2 separate regions of the Homo sapiens genome follow, and region 1 is linked to region 2. The links are contacts of gene promoters, found by promoter capture Hi-C in blood cells and fetal thymus (Javierre and others, 2016). All regions are on one chromosome and are shown on one strand. Each heading gives the region's core, a stretch centred on a gene start or on the middle of the fragment in contact. The rest is flanking DNA. Distances are from core to core; before and after follow the strand shown.

What was found. The method cuts DNA at HindIII sites, captures the fragments that hold promoters and counts their contacts. A CHiCAGO score of 5 or more calls a contact.
Region 1: a contact is called between a fragment that was not itself captured here and the fragment with the promoter of IL2RG in region 2, in 1 of 17 cell types (fetal thymus). The highest score is 6.9, in fetal thymus.

Annotation. Positions count from the first base shown.
Region 1 is chrX:53,682,477-53,685,301 of GRCh38, reverse strand. The region is part of intron 2 of HUWE1 (HECT, UBA and WWE domain containing E3 ubiquitin protein ligase 1); the gene reads left to right. Among named protein-coding and RNA genes, the nearest start is that of HUWE1, 2.8 kb to the left of the region's middle. The HindIII fragment of the contact is 1,705 bases long and covers 406-2,110 here.
Region 2 is chrX:71,110,327-71,113,026 of GRCh38, reverse strand. IL2RG (interleukin 2 receptor subunit gamma) reads left to right here and starts at 1,450. Exons shown (of 8, transcript NM_000206.3): 1 at 1,450-1,602; 2 at 1,977-2,130; 3 at 2,339-2,523. The coding sequence starts at 1,488. RefSeq lists enhancers at 1,298-1,687, 790-1,989. The HindIII fragment of the contact is 3,788 bases long and covers 853-2,700 here.

The DNA of each region.
Region 1 (2,825 bases), core at 9-2,508, about 17 Mb after region 2:
TGATGCAATTTCAATAAATATACCAAGTTTTTTTGGAACTTACTATGATTCTAAAGTTCATCCGGGGGAAAAAAATGGCTAAGAATAACTGAAAAAAAATATTTTAAAACGTAAGTAAAGATAGGGATATTTGTACTACTGGCTATTAAAATGTACTCTAAAGGAACTATTTAAATTAGAACGGACAGAACAATGCATTAGAATGGAAAAGCCCACAAATCAAGCCAGATTGGATCCCAAGATTTATTGGAGAAACACTGTTGGCTAGACGTGGAAAAACTGCCATATTAAAAGCTTCAGGCATTTCCCCCCATCCCCGAAGCTTGAATATTCCTTTGAGGGCAGACTCCTTTGTTTGGAGAAAACCACTTTATTGGATCTTTTTGGTTATGCCAAGGTAAAGCTTCAGTAGTTAAAATTGGTGGCTTTGGAACTAGAACTAATGATATGGCCTTTAGTTAGATTAAGATGGATTCAGGTTAGCCTGCAGTGCGGCGAGGGAAGGAGTCTGGATAATGTAGGTTTAAAAATTTTTTTCCCTATCTAATGGGCAAAAAATGTTATGTCATTGTTTTCATTTGCATTTGTGTGCTTACTGTGAGATTGAACGTCTTTTAAATGTTAGTCCAGGATAATATGTTATTCCTGGAGACAGGTAACAATGGGGGACTCTTTGCTCCGCTTCCAGAATGGAGTTTGGCTAATTGGTACAGCCTTGCCCGGAAGCGTGAGAATAAACAGGTTGACTTTTTAAATTTTCCTCAAGCACTAGGCTCTAGACACCTAGATCGGGGGCGGAGGCAGTTTTCAGGACATGGCCGAGATTTGGCGCTGAGCTGTGTCATCGCGAGGTTTGGCAGCCAGCTCCGCAGTGGGTCGGAAACCTCGTGGTAGGCGAGATCCCTGCAGGACGGGAGGGTTCCTCCCTTCCCCCGAAAAACTCCCAGTCATTTTCATGAAGCTCCGCCTTTCTCCTTTTTAGGAGTGTGCACCAGGTCTCGCGATATCTCATGTTTCCTAAAGGCGAGGCGCGGGCGGCATCCTGCGGTGAATTAAGAAGGTCTCGCCGAGGCTAAAGCGTAATATCGCGATAGTTCTCAACGCATGCGGGAGCCGGCCGTGGTAGGTTGGCTCCGCCCCTCACTGCTTCGTTAGGTTGTGCGTCATTTGCTTTTCGCTTCGCGTAGGGTGAAGCTGTAGCTACTTCGGCTTTGGTGGGAGGGAGGAGGGGTCTGGAAAGGGCTGGGCTCAGGCTTTTCCCGTCCGGTAGAGGTTCTCGCGGGATCGCGCGGAGGCGGCGGTGGCTCGGTTACTGACTGCAGTAGCCGCGGAGGCGGCGGCAAGGTCTTCGGCTCGTGCCGTTCTAAGCCGGAGAATTCTCGCGGGAGCAGGGTTACGTCCTCGTGGGATTCGTTGGCGGTGGCTGAGGTAGCTCGCGGGTGGGGGGTGGGGGGGCAGTGACTAGGGTCGGTCCGCCTGCTGTTAAGATGGCGGCGGAGGCTGATGTCTGTCCGGCCAGGACCCAGCACAGAGGTGTTGGCTATCTGCCTTTATGACGCCTCTGAGGTGCCCAGCGTTAAGGAGGTGACGATTGGCGAAACGCCGGGGTGCCGGTAAACTAGACCTGAGGCGAAGACCACCTCGTTTCTTGTCCGTTGAGGCGACACCATTTCCTGGGCCTCGGCCGCGTGTGGGCCCGCCTTTGCCCCACCGATCGGTCAACGCCTCCGTTGTCGCCGCCGCAGTGGGCGGATTGGGAAGGGTGGGAGGGGAGTCTGGAGTTCGCTGGGGAGTGGGGTTGGGGGTTAAATTGAACGGTGGGAAAGAGGAGCAACCAATGAAGAGTGGCCCCTTTCCCCTACCTTTTCTGCCGGCCAACCTCCGTTCTCAGCACCTCCGACGACCCGGATGAATACCCTGGTTTTTCTCGAGGTGGGGTCATCTTCGCCAACTCTCGCGGTTTTAGAGCTAAGGCTTAGGGTTCAAGCAGTAGTGTCACTGGTGTACTCCTCCTCCTCTCCCCACACCCCTCCTAATTCTGTCGTCCCATCTAATCTTCATCTACGTGGATAGTTGAGGCTGGTATTTAAGGGAGGGGGGAGTCAAAGCTTTTCCCTGTGACTCCTTCCCCAGTTCTAAATTCGAGTTTAGCCTAAGTCCTCTAGCCCGCTCTGTCTCCCCCTTCCATTGGTCCCCTTGGCGCAGGCGTTGAATAGAGCTTATCCTGTTGCCTGCATTTACTCCATCTTTGTGGATGGTGCCATAGTAGCCTTCCATTTCCTCAAGTCTTCATGTTTGTATGACTCTGATCCGGATTTCTTAGCTCTGCATGCTGCTAAACCACTATTAAGCGAAACTATGAACGGGTCGGTGTTTGGATATTGCAGTTTAAGTGGCCTTTTCGTTTACGGCCATTAGCCTTGCCTTCCTCATTCCTCCCCCTCAGAAGGCTGTAGAGGATAACTCTCCAGTAAACCCGCTTTCTGTCTTCCCTGCCTCTTCCATTTCCCCTGCAAGCCTGGGAACCGCCCCTTTTCCCTGCCTTGCTCTGAGTTTCTGGAGCCTCTTGGTCTGTGGACATCTATTTTTGCTGCTGAGCACCTCTTACCTGCTTCTCACTTCTTAATCTTTCTATCCCCCACTCCCCATACTCCTTTTCCAGGAGCTGAATCCCTTAGAAGGAAGATAACCCTCCTCTCAGGCTCCACTACATTTTACCCCTTCCATTTACTAGAAAACAGCATTGATTGTCCTGCCCCCCAGTCTGCCCTGTTCTTTATTTCCTCTTCCCCCCATGCCACCGTTACTATAGGCAGTTAATTCCC
Region 2 (2,700 bases), core at 201-2,700:
AATAAATTTCTGTTGGTTTAAGCCACTCAGTTTGGGGATAACTTATGGCAGCCCTAGCAAACTAATACATACTAAAGATACATACTAAATACTAAGCTGGGCCATATAGTCCAGTTTTCCTGAGACTCCCAGGCAAGTGCTGTTTTTCTTTGCTTAATATCCTACACCACTTTCTGTCTGGTAAAATTACACTCATTCTTTAAGATGCCACTGAAATAGCACCTCTTCAGCACAGCCTTCACTAAACTATCCCCCTCTCCATCTTGGTAAATTTAGTTACTTCCTCTTCTGTGCTCACATACTTTGTAGTATCTCTACATTTATGCTATAGGACTTGTTACACTATGTTGTATTACTTGTTTATGTCTTCCCCACTTTTCTGTGAGTGTCTAGAAATATGAGGATGTCTTGTTGGTCTATTTCCAGAACATAAGCACAGTGCCTGGCACATATTAAAAACGTAATAAATGTTTGCTGAATAAATAGTTTCTGTAAGTGGCTTCTCCAATCACCTCTGTGTTTTCGGGGAAGGTAAAACTGGCAACAGGATGAAGAATGGATTAGAGAGCAGAGGGCCTTTAGAAAGGGAGGCCAGTTGATGGAGTCTAGATAGAATCATGACTAGAGCTAATGAAAGACTGATTTAGCAGAGTGGCTGTGGTAATGGAAAGGAGGAAACCGTTGGGAGAAACACCACAGAAGCAGAGTGGGTTATATTCTCTGGGTGAGAGAGGGGGAGAAATTGAAGCTGATTCTGAGGTTTCAAGTCTGGGTGACTGAGAGGGTGACGATACCATTGACTGAGGTGGGGAAGGCAGGAAGAGAAGCAGAGTTGGGGGAAGATGGGAAGCTTGAAGCTAGTATTGTTGTTCCTCCATTTCTAGAATATTTTTGTATTATAAGTCACACTTCCTCGCCAGTCTCAACAGGGACCCAGCTCAGGCAGCAGCTAAGGGTGGGTATTCTGGTTTGGATTAGATCAGAGGAAAGACAGCTGTATATGTGCCCACAGGAGCCAAGACGGTATTTTCCATCCTCCCAAAACAGTAGAGCTTTGACAGAGATTTAAGGGTGACCAAGTCAAGGAAGAGGCATGGCATAGAACGGTGATGTCGGGGGTGGGGGTTCAGAACTTCCATTATAGAAGGTAATGATTTAGAGGAGAAGGTGGTTGAGAATGGTGCTAGTGGTAGTGAACAGATCCTTCCCAGGATCTAGGTGGGCTGAGGATTTTTGAGTCTGTGACACTATTGTATATCCAGCTTTAGTTTCTGTTTACCACCTTACAGCAGCACCTAATCTCCTAGAGGACTTAGCCCGTGTCACACAGCACATATTTGCCACACCCTCTGTAAAGCCCTGGTTTATAAGGTTCTTTCCACCGGAAGCTATGACAGAGGAAACGTGTGGGTGGGGAGGGGTAGTGGGTGAGGGACCCAGGTTCCTGACACAGACAGACTACACCCAGGGAATGAAGAGCAAGCGCCATGTTGAAGCCATCATTACCATTCACATCCCTCTTATTCCTGCAGCTGCCCCTGCTGGGAGTGGGGCTGAACACGACAATTCTGACGCCCAATGGGAATGAAGACACCACAGCTGGTGGGAAATCTGGGACTGGAGGGGGCTGGTGAGAAGGGTGGCTGTGGGAAGGGGCCGTACAGAGATCTGGTGCCTGCCACTGGCCATTACAATCATGTGGGCAGAATTGAAAAGTGGAGTGGGAAGGGCAAGGGGGAGGGTTCCCTGCCTCACGCTACTTCTTCTTTCTTTCTTGTTTGTTTGTTTCTTTCTTTCTTTTGAGGCAGGGTCTCACTATGTTGCCTAGGCTGGTCTCAAACTCCTGGCCTCTAGTGATCCTCCTGCCTCAGCCTTTCAAAGCACCAGGATTACAGACATGAGCCACCGTGCTTGGCCTCCTCCTTCTGACCATCATTTCTCTTTCCCTCCCTGCCTTCATTTTCTCCCCAATCTAGATTTCTTCCTGACCACTATGCCCACTGACTCCCTCAGTGTTTCCACTCTGCCCCTCCCAGAGGTTCAGTGTTTTGTGTTCAATGTCGAGTACATGAATTGCACTTGGAACAGCAGCTCTGAGCCCCAGCCTACCAACCTCACTCTGCATTATTGGTATGAGAAGGGACGAGGGGGAGGGGATGAAGAAGAGGTGGGTTGGATCAGAGACCAAGAGAGAGGGTAGCAAGTCTCCCAGGTACCCCACTGTTTTCTCCTGGGGTAAGTCATAAGTCGGTTGAGGGGAGATGAGGCTAGGCTCTGGATATCTGCAGTACCCAGATTGGCCCCACTGTTCCTCTTCCTTCCAACCTTTCTCCTCTAGGTACAAGAACTCGGATAATGATAAAGTCCAGAAGTGCAGCCACTATCTATTCTCTGAAGAAATCACTTCTGGCTGTCAGTTGCAAAAAAAGGAGATCCACCTCTACCAAACATTTGTTGTTCAGCTCCAGGACCCACGGGAACCCAGGAGACAGGCCACACAGATGCTAAAACTGCAGAATCTGGGTAATTTGGAAAGAAAGGGTCAAGAGACCAGGGATACTGTGGGACATTGGAGTCTACAGAGTAGTGTTCTTTTATCATAAGGGTACATGGGCAGAAAAGAGGAGGTAGGGGATCATGATGGGAAGGGAGGAGGTATTAGGGGCACTACCTTCAGGATCCTGACTTGTCTAGGCCAGG